Linked DNA regions of Homo sapiens: regions 2 and 3 are each linked to region 1. Evidence: promoter capture Hi-C in 16 types of primary human blood cells and fetal thymus (Javierre and others, 2016). All regions are on one chromosome and are shown on one strand. The core of a region is centred on a gene start or on the middle of the fragment in contact, and the rest is flanking DNA. Distances in the headings are between cores, read along the strand shown. Region 1 holds the start of USP13 (ubiquitin specific peptidase 13). Region 2 overlaps FXR1 (FMR1 autosomal homolog 1). Region 3 overlaps FXR1 (FMR1 autosomal homolog 1).

Evidence for each region. The method cuts DNA at HindIII sites, captures the fragments that hold promoters and counts their contacts. A CHiCAGO score of 5 or more calls a contact.
Region 2: a fragment that was not itself captured here is called in contact with the fragment with the promoter of USP13 in region 1 in 1 of 17 cell types (M1 macrophages); the score reaches 6.1 in M1 macrophages.
Region 3: a contact is called between a fragment that was not itself captured here and the fragment with the promoter of USP13 in region 1, in 4 of 17 cell types (M0 macrophages, M1 macrophages, naive CD8 T cells and 1 more). The highest score is 6.8, in M0 macrophages.

What each region holds. Positions count from the first base shown.
Region 1 is chr3:179,650,980-179,655,193 of GRCh38, forward strand. It overlaps USP13 (ubiquitin specific peptidase 13), which reads left to right and starts at 2,061. Exons shown (of 21, transcript NM_003940.3): 1 at 2,061-2,414. The coding sequence starts at 2,247. RefSeq lists silencers at 1,793-1,872, 1,883-2,222 and an enhancer at 1,891-2,534. The HindIII fragment of the contact is 8,280 bases long and covers 1,600-4,214 here.
Region 2 is chr3:180,960,033-180,964,246 of GRCh38, forward strand. FXR1 (FMR1 autosomal homolog 1) reads left to right here. Exons shown (of 17, transcript NM_005087.4): 11 at 1,436-1,522; 12 at 2,851-2,908; 13 at 2,996-3,058. Among named protein-coding and RNA genes, the nearest start is that of DNAJC19, 28 kb to the right of the region's middle. The HindIII fragment of the contact is 4,850 bases long and covers 17-4,214 here.
Region 3 is chr3:180,943,390-180,947,603 of GRCh38, forward strand. The region is part of intron 3 of FXR1 (FMR1 autosomal homolog 1); the gene reads left to right. Among named protein-coding and RNA genes, the nearest start is that of FXR1, 33 kb to the left of the region's middle. The HindIII fragment of the contact is 3,091 bases long and covers 261-3,351 here.

The DNA.
Region 1 (4,214 bases), core at 811-3,310:
GGTGGGGACACAGCCCTACCATACCAGGTAGTAAGTTCTCCCTTAACCTCAGGCTTTCAGTTCTTCTCCACAGAGCCTGACTAGTTTCTTGTGTATTGCTCTAGAGACATCCTAAAGCCAAACAAGTGGGCATGCATACACATATGTATATTTTAAGGGGCTACATTAAAAATATTTACTACAAGTACAACCAACTGGAATGAAGGCCCATGGTATATAGGATGTGCCAAAATGCCTACTGCATATTATCAGCCTTGCATGTATTCCTTGCTTTTATACACTAGTTTGCTTAAATTGCTTTTATCATCTAGTAATAATTTGGAGATTGTTCCACATCAGCACACGTAGAGCAACTTCATTCTTTTCAATGGTACTGTATTTTAACCACTTTCTACAGAAGGATCTTTAGGTTTTCCCCAGACGTTTGTTACTCGAAACAGTGCTCTAACAAATATCTTTACACAGCCTTAATTTATCTGTTGCATAAATGTCTAGACAAGGAAATGCTGGGGAAAACAGTATGCACATATAAAGTTATGACTGGTATTATTACATTTCCTTCCAAAGAGGTTTATCGTTTTTATCCCCACCAACAATGTAATGAGGGTCTACTTCCCAAACCCATGCTAACTCAATATATCTTTACCAGCCCAAAGGATGAAAAACAGTGTCTCACTGATTTAATTTGTATTTAATCTAAGATTAAATTTTAAGTTTTGTAAAACCAAGTTTATCTCTGTAATTGGAGAAAACATCATCCATTAACGTGAAAGGTAATAAGCTGATGAGACTAAATTCAAAGCAAAAGCTCGCTGAGAGGATCTGCCCAATGAGGAAGATGACAGTAGTGTCTGATTTTTTGCTCAGTGCCACCTCCTCCTTTTCCAACAGATAGCATTTGGGAGTGCTGAGTTATAAGAAAGTGTGGTGCGCTCGAGGCTTGCTTGAGGGTATGGAAATCTTGAGATAGGTCTGGAGAACCAGGGAGAGTTAAAAGAGAAAAAAAGTAAGAAAAAAAAAAGAACTTAAGGACTATCTGATCTGAGAGAGGCTTACAAAAATTAGCGTTTTGGTTCACTATTTCTCGCTATTTCTGCATTTCATTAACTGGCAGGGATCACTGGATACTCTGTCATGAATACATATGTTGGGTGTAGTTAGAGAACCTCAATGTCATTGAACCCGTCTTGTGGGTTTTTTGGAGAGAATGAGAGTATGCTGGGAGACATGCTCTGCTTGCAAATGATCAACCCCCGAGGCCAACCCCATTCATCATTTATTTTGAGGAACTGATGATCAAGACAGGAATATGTATGCCTGCCTACAAAATCCTCAAATCAGGCCACTGAATGTTCGACATGAGAACTTTGAATCACATAGAAGATACTCCAAAGGCAGAGAAAAATAGAAAGCCTTCCGACGCCCTGAAAAAATCTTGACCATCCCTGACTTCCCCCAATATGTAAGAAAACCTGTATTATTATTACACACACACTCCCACACACACCCCGCCCTCCCCCACACACACACCCTCTATCCTCACTCGATCTTATTCTATTCGCTCTATTTTTGAGCCTTGGATGTTAAAGTAAGGAACGAAGCTTAGTGGGGAAGCACTGAAGTGCATGGCGCAAATTTAGATTTAAGCCTCACGTTAGATTTCAGATTTGCACATCGAGTCCCGCCCCTATCCAATCCGGGGACGTCACCGCCCTAGTCTTCGGCTGTTTTAAAAGCAAGCGGTTTTTAAAACCCCCAATCCTGCTCTTTGTGTTGGCCTCCTCGGAGTTGCCCCTCTGCAAGCCAACAATTCGGGATAGAAAACACCTCCGTGGTGTTTTCCCGGGGCCCTCCCGCGCCGCGTTCGGCCGCCAGCCCGCTCGAGCTCCCGCGCCAACGCCTCAGGGGTTCGCCCTCCGCCCCCCGCCGCCGCGCCCGGCCCACGCGCAGGGCCCCTCTCCAGCGCCCCCTCCCCGGCACGCTGCGGCTGGCGCTCCCCAGCCCCGCCTGACGCTGCAGCTGGGCCGGAGACTCGCCATTGGATTAAAAATAGCGTCGCCAGTCCGCCCCAAGCCCGCGGTGCCCGCTCCCGCCCCGCAGCCCGCTCTCCCCGCCCGCCCCGGCTCGGCCGGCTGCCGTTGCCCGCGCAGCCCGCCCGTCAGCCCGCTCGCTGGCGCCGCCGCCGCCGGCAGACCCCGCGCTCCGGCTCCGGCTCGGCTCGCTCGGCTCCGGTGCGCGCCGAGGCCATGCAGCGCCGGGGCGCCCTGTTCGGCATGCCGGGCGGCAGCGGAGGCAGGAAGATGGCTGCAGGAGACATCGGCGAGCTGCTAGTGCCCCACATGCCCACGATCCGCGTGCCCAGGTCCGGCGACAGGGTCTACAAGAACGAGTGCGCCTTCTCCTACGACTCTCCCGTAAGTGAGGCGCCTCGGGGGAGGGTCGCGGGGCCGGCGGCCTGCGGCACGTGAAGCCGGGGGAGAAGATGCGCAGTGGCGGCCGGGACCTCTTCTCTTCCTCCGGGCGGCAGAGTTGGCTCAGGAACACTGCAGTTCGGCAGACACTTAGTGAGCGCCCCAGGGCTGCTGCAGCCGAGGACTGGCTCGTGCTGGTGGTTTTGCTCCGCCAGCCTCCCCAGGCTGGAAGGGCCCGATTCCCAGCAGCTTGCACACAGCCCCGCCGCCGTTTAAAGATAGATGAAATACAAGAGTTCCCTGTTCCGAACTGCACGTTGCAGATCGTTTGCGTCCTCCGCGGGGCAGAGCGCAGGGCGGGTAGGTGGACGGGATGATCCCCCCACACCCCGGGACACACACAGCCCTTCTTTTTCTGGGACCACTTGCTTTGCTCAGGGATCCCCACTTCTGGACAATTCTGATTTGCTCTCTGAGCTTTTCTTCCACCAGTTCCCATTTCACCCCACTCCTTTTCTTGTCTTTAGAATGTCAGGGCCAGGCGCGGTGGCTCACGTCTGAAATCCTAGCACTTTTTAAGAGGCGGAGGCGGGCGGATCGTTTGAGGTCAGGAGTTCGAGACCAGCCTGGCTAATATGGCGAAACCCCATCTCTACTAAAAAAGAACCCCAAAATTAGCCGGGCGCGGTGGCGGGAGCCTGTAGTCCCAGCTACTCGGGAGGCTGAGGCTTGAGAATCGCTTGAACCGGGAAGGAGGAGGCTGTAGTGGGCCGAGATCGCGCCACTGCCCTCCAGCCTGGGCGACAGAGCGAGACTCCGTCTCAAAAAAAAAAAAAAAAAAATGTCAGACGAAACCTTCCGGTGCCTCCACTCGGGCAGCAGAAATAGGGGATCTACTGGATTGCGATGGTTTTCTTAAGCCTTCCCCACCTTGCCCTTCTAAATGAGTCACTTGGACTGACATGCGCAAGTATAAATTATTAAAAGTTCAATCCCGAGTCGTGACCTCGGAGAATGAGGAGGAAGCTGAGAGGGATCGCCGCCTTCCACCCGGGGCGGTTGGTGGTGGTTTTCACCTGGTTCTATGTGAATGTGTGAGAAGCAGCAGGAGGGTGAATGTCCCTTTCAAAAGTCAAAATGGGCTTCAAAGTGACTCAGCTGTCTGGCGTTTATCATGTCTTTTTGAGGACCAGGTTATTTTTATCCACCCACTTTAGATCTCATATGTCACCCGGCAGATCTCAATGCATTGGGAGGCGCATGGATTGGATGGACCGAGGCAGGTCTCGCAATGGTCTAATGTATTTTATTCATAGCATGTGGACTATTGTCAGAGGGGAAAAGAAAAGTCCAAATGAGCGGCAACATTTCCAAAGTTTCCTTTATTATCTGTGGGTTGATTTTGGCTGGCTTCAAAGCACTTTTGCTCGACACACACTGGAGTATCAGAGTTAGTATCCTCTCTGTGACATTTAGTTTTTTTATTTATGGTAACTCCATATCATTTGAGGGATGAAACCTAACTTAATTTTTGATTGTTTACTTTTTTTTTCTTTCGAAAAGATCCACAGAGTGGAGTGTGACAATCGGCAGTCCTTTTTTAGGATGTTATCCATAAATTATTTGAAAATGCCATTTTCAGATTGTATGGCCAGTGTTGGGCAGTTCCCACTAATAGCTTCTAAAGGTGGAGAGGGATGATGGTCCTAACTTAAGCAATTGACAGATTGTTACCTCCAGGAAGAAGAAAGTGGCCTAAGTTTTTTAGGATAGCACAACATGGAAAGTGGGTCAAATGACTTT
Region 2 (4,214 bases), core at 1,192-3,691, 1.3 Mb after region 1:
CTGATTGGGGGAGTTAAGCTTTACTCTCATTTTTCTCAGCCATTAAGAAGCTGGAAGTATGTTTCTTTAAAGAAGAAAAATTCACAGTGTGCCATCTTATTTCTCTTTTCTGCCACTTTTTAAAAATCTTCTTATTCAGAAGTTCAGCAAAGTAAACCAAGTCTGGCCTAATACTTTGATTTACTTGAATACCTCTACGTATCTTAATAATTCCTTTAATTTTACATTGTGTAAATATTTATGCTCTGGAGGTGATATTTCTTTTAGTGGTCAGGAAGTACCTCTTGTAGTACACAGACACTCAAGATTTTGTTACCTGAGCACATACTGTAGGGATAACTGGGTTAATGTGCTTTATTATGCTTTAAAGCTATACCTACTAAGGTGATGTATCTATCTAGTCTGTAAGTTTATAGACAGTTTGAAGGAAAATCGTTGTTTTTTGTTTCTGGAGACAGATTCTTGCTCTCTTGTCCAGGCTGGAGGGCAGTGGCACAGTCTTGGCTCACTGCAATCTCTGCCTCCCAGGCTCAAGCTATCTTCCTACCTCAGCCTCCCAAGTAGCTGGGACTACAGGCATGTGCTACCCTGCCAGCTAATTTTTGTATATTTTGTAGAGATGGGCTTTCTCCATGCTGCCCAGGCTGGTCTCGAACTCATGAACTCAAGTGATCCACCTGCCTCAGCCTCCCAAAGTGCTAGGATTACAGGTGTGAGTCACCATGACCTGCCAGAAAATCATTTTAACTTTAAAAGTTGATTTATATACTTGGAAAATTAAATTAATTATAAATCAGAAAACTTGATATAAACTGATTTTTTAAAATTATTTTTAAAGTGTTTAGCACACAGAAGACAATTTACAACAGTAAATTGGGGTGCAAATATGACAAGTTATTGAAAATCTGAGTATTTCAACTTACATGGATTTTAGCATTTTTTTCTCCTTAAATCTTGAAGTTTAGTACATGTAAATTGCTGCGTGTTTCAGAAGAGTTTTCCTAATTATATATTGGGGCTGGGTACAGTGGCTCACGCCTGTAACCTCTTTACGAAGTCAATAATCCCAGCGCTTTGGGAAGCCAAGGCAGGAGGATTGCTTGAGGCAAGGAGTTGGGCAACAGAGCAAGACCCTGTCTCTACAAAAAATAAAAAGTAATAGCTGGTTGTGGTGACACGCATCTATAGTCCCAGCTACTCTGGAGGCTGAGACAGGAGAATCACTTGAGCCCAGGAGTTTGATGCTGCAGTGAGCTGTGATTGTAACACTGCACTGTAGCCTGGGCAACAGAGCAAGACGTCATCTCAAAAAAAAAAAAAAAAAAAAAAAAAAAAGGTGTGTGTGTGTGTGCCTGCCTGTCAGTTTCATGTCACTTTTAGGCTAGAACTTTGTTAAAATATTAAACACTGAATACTTTTTTTTTTTTTTAAACAGGGTATGGTTCCATTTGTATTTGTTGGCACTAAAGAAAGCATTGGAAATGTGCAGGTTCTTCTAGAGTATCATATTGCCTATCTAAAGGTTTGTATACGGTTCATACTATATTCTGATATTGTTGCTGCATTTACTACATAAATGTTGTACATTTGCTACAAATTTAAAATGTCCTCACATTAAACATTTTATATTTGAAGTAAACTTCAAATCTTTAAATATTTTTTGTTAATTCAGCTTCAGATTTGCCATTGTTCTACATGAGAATTTAAAAAGTCCTTTGTCATCATAAAATGATTGGCCTTGTGTGCATAATTTCTCTTCTTTCTGAGCTTTTATATTTCTTTCTTTCTTAAGAAATGATTCCTTTGTCTTCATGCAATTTGACTCTCAGATCACTTATGTATCTGCATGTTCATACTGGAGCCATTTTGTTTTTACTTTTGTACTTTACATACAAATAGGGTACAGAACCAGGAGTGACATTGGGCTTCCTTGGTAACTTTGGCATTATGCAAATCATCTGCATCATCTCCACTGACATTACTCGATAATTTGTAACCATTGTTAACAAAATAGTCTATTTGAGTTGATACATAAAGAGCAAGGGTTTTTAGAAAAATATGACCCATAAATTATTAAACATTTTAATTTTATTTTCTACTCTTTCCCTTTTATTCCTGCTGTGTTTCTTTTTAAAGTATAATAATATCCTCACCTGTTCTCTGCCTCTAGTATGTTTTCCTCCCAGTCTGTCGTATCATTGTTGCTGTTACTATTTTGAGATCACTCTGATAATGTCATTTCTTTTCTTTTGAAATTCATCTTTATATGAAAAGTCGCAATTAAAGCTGGCATTTTGAAGCCAGTGCTTTATCTTTCAGTACTCATCTTTTAACCAAGAGCTTTCTCTAGACATCTAACCTTTGCATCCTGTAATGACCTCAATTTCTGAATGACAAAGTCTAGCACTCCTTCTAGGTCACAACTCGTGTCACTGCTTTGATAGGAAAGTAGCTTGTTAATAGTACCTTTCATAGATGCTACCTGTATCTCATTCAGCAATTCTAACTCCTTGAGGGCAAAATCTGGTAATATTGTATAATTGTTAGCTATTTAATAAATAACTTATTTTAAAGCTGTCTGTTAAACATCCCCTTGATTGGGGAGAGTCCATGTCTTCTTTTATATTGTATGCCTATAGTAGCATGTTTGGCACACTCTAGACCATTCAGTAAATGTTGAACAGAAACAGCAAATGACCTCATCAATTCTGTTGACTAGGAACACAATGCTCTTTACCATCTAATTGCCTAAGGTCACAGCTTTGATAGGGAGTACAGCTTTAGCTTTAGGCTTTAGGAAAACAAAAAGTTATATATAAGAAGACTTACTCTTTTTTGTTTTGATTGTAGGAAGTAGAACAGCTAAGAATGGAACGCCTACAGATTGATGAACAGCTGCGACAGATTGGTATGGGTTTCAGACCTTCTTCCACCAGAGGGCCTGAAAAAGAGAAAGGATATGCCACTGATGAAAGTACCGTCTCTTCTGTACAAGGTTCTAGGTCTTATAGCGGAAGAGGCAGAGGTCGTCGGGGACCTAATTACACCTCCGGTTATGGTAAAAAAAAATTTTTTTTTTTTTTTTTTGGTAATAGTAATAATAGTAGTTATAGTTTAGGTGCTCTAACACATTTTCTTATAATTAGTTCATTACTCTGTCTTGGCTTTGAGGGTAGAAGGTAGTTCTGAAGGTTTAGTACACGTCTTAATAGTAGTGATAGTATACATTAAAATGACAGTAAAATATATAAAATTTCCAAGCAGTTATGTAATGAAGCAAAGCATGTTTTTAAGTTGGTAGTTCATTGTCATGTTTATTATATTTACAAAGAATACATATGTAACTTGTTTTTCAAATACTTTACTAGTACAGTTTTATACATTTCCCAGTAAATACCTAGTAATGGTGGTGGTGATACTTCTAGGAATCATCTTTTGTCTACCCTCTTTAAGTAAAAAATGAAAAGTGTGCGAATCACTGCCAAGATTGCATATAGCAAGTCTTTTTACTAGCTTTTAAAAAATATTTTACTTACTCATTTGGCGTATTTGAATATATTAACATCTCACATCTGGAATTATTTTATTTAACAACATTTCACTAAAATGAAGACTCTGAAAGCCAGAATCTAATTTAACACTTTATAAATGAACATTTTCTAAAATGTATTTCACTGTGAGGATTGGGTCTAACCCAGATAGGAAGGGGGACAGTGGAGTGGTGATAGTCAACAATTCTCTAATCCTAAATTCTCCCTTATTCTTCTTCAGCTTTGGAGTTGTTCCATTTTTCTACATTTGGACTTGGATCTTAGCAGTGACCTGATTTGTTTTTTTCCTTCGCCCCTTCTCTTTATTTTCTCTTTTCCTTTTCTTTTCTTCACTCCTATACTTACTCCCTTTTGAGGAAATATAAAACCTTTTCCAAAATGTAAGGCATTTAAGGAAAATAGAAATAAATGCAAATTTCATGCTTTAATTGAAGGATCATCTAATGCTGACAAAGTTATATTAAACCTGAACTATCTTCAATTTGTTGTAGAGTTGTAAGTTTGTGTCCCTGCCCTTTAATATCATATCTTTATGTTCTCATTTTCTTATATATGTTTTTATTTAATGCAGTATTGAAACCTAAACAGCAAAATTCTAATAAAGAAGTGTTCAGCATATAAAGGGATGAAAATTGCAGACTATTATTATATTTCTGAAAATGT
Region 3 (4,214 bases), core at 556-3,055, 1.3 Mb after region 1:
GTAGCTGGGATTACGGGCGCCCGCCCACCACCATGCCCAGCTAATTTTTGTACTTTTAGTAGAGACGGGGTTTTGCCATGTTGGCCAGGTTGGTCTCAAACTCCTGACCTCAGGTGATCCACCCGCCTCAGCCTCCCAGAGTGCTGGGATTACAGGTGTGGGCTGTGCAGCCAAATTTGTAGTGTTTTTGATTCAGGCTTAGGAATTTAGGTTTAGTCACTTTATGAGAGTAACTTGGTCTTTCAGGGGTGAAGTTATGAAGCTTACAGAAGTGGATATTAAGTTTAAAATGGAGTTCAGCATTTCATCGTTCAGTGAGAAAAGCCTCCAGGCAGTTGAGATGGTTTATTTAGAAAGCCAGATTCATGAATGATTATGCTTTGGTGAAAATAGAATAAGGGGGTTAGGTAGTTTTAAGACATAACATTTTCAGCAAATGAGGCTTGATTTACCCACATTAACAAGAGATATTCGAACTGCCTCTCTGAGATAGTTACTCGAATGGGCACCTTCTTTTGGTTGTTAGGATATTCTTTTTTTTTTTGAGATGCAGTTTCGCTCTTGTTGCCTAGGCTGGAGGGCAATGGCGCGATCTCAGCTCACCGCAGCCTCCGCCTCCCAGGTTCAAGCAATTCTCCTACCTCAGCCTCCCGAGTAGCTGGGATTACAGGCATGCACCACCACGCCTGGCTAATTTTGTATTTTTAGTAGAGACAGGGTTTCTCCATGTTGAGGCTGGTCTCGAACTCCTGACCTCAGGTGATCCACCCACCTCGGCCTCCCAAAGTGCTGGGATTACAGGCGTGAGCCACCGCGCCCGGCCTAGAATATTCTTTTTGTAACCCTCAGTATACTTGGGAAAACAGTCATCACTGATCGTTTACCAAATAATTTTGTAGCAGAAAGAATGAAAGGGTAGTAAGGTCGTTATTGGACCTTTTTTTTTTTTGAGACAGGGTCTCGCTCTGTCACCCAGTTTAGAGTATAGTGGCATGATCATGGCTCACTGCAGCCTTGACCTCCCAGTCTCAAGTGATCCTCCTTCCTCAGCCTCCCAAGTAGCTGGGACTAGAGGCATGCACCAACCACACCTGGCTAATTAAAAAAAAATTTTTTTTATAGAGACGAAATCTTCCTGTGTTGTCCAGGTTGGTCTCAAACTCCTGGGCTCAAGCAGTCCTCCTGCCTCAGCCTCCAAAAGTGCTGGGATTACAGGCATGAGCCACTGTGCCCCCCATTATTAGACTTTTTTAAAGGCCATTATTGACTCCATGCTGGAGTATAGTGAAGCAAACACAACTCACTGCAGCCTTGACTTCCTGGGCTCAAGAGATCCTTCCACCCTACCCCAGGCCCCCAAGTAGCTGAGATTACAGGCACATGCCACCATGCCTGGCTAACTTTTGTATTTTGCATAGTGATGGTGTTTCACCATGTTGTCCAGGCTGGTCTCGAACTCTGGAGCCAAAGTGATCTGCCCACCTCAGCCTCCCAGAGTACTCGGATTACGGGCGTGAGCCCCACCACGCATGGCCTTATTAGACATTTTAGTGAGGGTTTAAACATAGCAAATCTAACTTTTTCATATTTTCCAGGTTTTGATGATATATGTATCTACAATGAATGCAGTTCTCTAAATGTAACTAACTGCTCACTGTTATACATGAACCTAGAACATACCAATCTTATAAATATTGATAGCAGATTTAAAATATATCTCTAATAAATTCTAGCTTATTCTGGTTATTCTTACAGTTGGATCATCAGAATGCAGTCCTTGAATACTTTGGAACTTTTAATGACATCTCATTCTATTGAAGAAGGGATAGCCATCTCTGTGCTGTAATTTTAGCACATTTAGTCAGTTGGATTGACTAATCTATTGAATATTTTTGCATTTCATTATCTTTCTTTTTCGAGTTACCTTTGTATACACATCTGCTTTTGACATTTCCACTTACGAAGTACATTTTGGCACACAAACATTTCTTAAAATTTTATCTTCAATTTTTATTTTACCTTTTTTTTCCCCCTGGACAGGGTCTCGTTCTGTCACCCAGGGTTGAGTGTAGTGGTACAATCTTGGCTCACTGCAGTCTCAACTTCCCAGGCTCCAGCAATCCTTCCACCCTAGCCTTCCATGTAGGTGGCACCACAGGTGCACGCTACGACACCTGGCTAATTTCTTTTGTATTTTTGATAGAGATGGGGTTTCATCATGTTGTCCAGGGTGGTCTTGAACTCCTGAGCTCTCAAGCAGTCGACCTGCTTTGGCTCCCCAAAGTTTTGGGATTATAGGTGTAAGCCACCGTGCCTGACCACAAACATCTTAAAAGATGGAAGAATACTGTCATATACCCTTTTAGCAAACCAGGATGATCTGGGTTCTTGTTGGAGGATTTTGCATGATGGAGTCTCAGTTGAGTCATTAACTGGATGAGAATACACATCATCTTTCCCTCTTCTCCTTAGAAATACATTGTTTGAGAACAATGTTTGAGAAATACATCGTTTGAGAAATACATCGTTTGAGAAATACATTGAGAACATTCATCTAAGATGTCACCATCTCAGACTTCATAGTCTGAGGTTTTGCTTTGTAAGATAATTTCACATTTATCAGTACTCTTTGCATCTGTTGTCTGATATCTCTAATAATTAGAAAGGCCTTCCTCTGTAAATTTTTCTTCTCTTCGCAATTATGAGTGAAAAAAATTCATAATTATCAACTGGTCAACGGTAGCTAAAAGCAGACTACAAGGATGGTGTCTTTGGTCTTTTTGAACTGTTTTGAAAGAGATGTGATACCTCAGGCTATGCAGTAAGGAAACTGTATGAACATTAACAGTTTATTTCACTGTTGTATCCTCTAGGTGATGCCATCATTCCTCTGTTCCATTTTAGTCTTTATTTAAAGCATAGCTGAGAATAACTGATGAATGTTGATGAAATTGTAAAGTGTTTCAAGATATAGGAAAAATAAGATCACTAGATTCTACCTTACATTTATAAAAGGGCCCAGTGGATACATATAATAATTACAGAATAAGGGTGAGTTCTGTTCTAGTCTTAGAGAAGTAAACTTTCTTGTTTTTTGGAATATGTCGTAAGGAAGAATATAAGTCATGAGATATTGATCCCTTTGAATAGTTAGATCTGTTTATAAAAGAAATGGAAAAGCTAAAATTGAGTTTAACGGACCCTGATTGGTATATTGGACTTCCTGCTTTTTCTCATAGCTTTTTTCTAATCATGGTATACGATAAAGTTCATTAGTAGGTTTTGGTTTATTCATTTCCAGTTCCAGTATTCCTACCACTTCCAAGATTACTCTCAAATCATCCTGATAGAAGCTTCAGGCTTTCTAAAAGTCTTTGTTTTTAGTTGTTTGTGTTTATCTCCCAGATGGCTGTTAACAGCCACTGATAGGTTTCCCTGATGATCTCTGCAAGGACAGTCAATCTTGGTTTTTATTGGTTTTTAGTTTCTTCTCAGCCCCCCTTTTCTACCTTTCTCTATACTGAAAATATAATACGTTAAAGAAGCTCTGCTGTGTCATAAGAAATAACTCTAATCCCAAGTGAAAGCTTCTGTGACCTATTACGTTAATAAAACTGATATTTATAGATATAAAGAATATGACTTGTTTTTTTGTGGATAGTTTTTATTTTGTTTTTTTTGAGATGGAGTTTTGCTCTAGGTGCCTAGGCTGGAGTGCAATGGTGTGATCTCTGCTCACTGCATCCTCCACCCTCTGGACATGATTCTCCTGCCTCAGCCCTCCGAGTAGATGAGATTACAGGCACCTGCCACCATGCCCGGCTAATTTTTATATTTTAGTAGAGACAGGGTTTACCGTGTTGGTCAGCCTTGTCTCGAACTCCTGACCTCAGGTTATCCACCCACCTTGGCCTCCCAAAGTGCTGGGATTACAGGTGTGAGCCACTGCGTCCGGCCTGGATAGGAATTTTGTAAGATACTTAATGTATTCTGCTAGATGGACTGAATGTGTGTAATTTTTTTGTTCAGTTAAACAATTTTAGTACATTTGATTTAGGTTCTTTAGCACGGGATCTAAATGTCATATCCTCGATGGAATTTAAAAATTACGTTAATCACTTTCTGAGAACAATTTTTAATATTAACAATGTTGACAGAAACAGGAAGACCTGTGTTTTACATTATTTAAAACTCCTTTGTAAGAGCATTTCTTT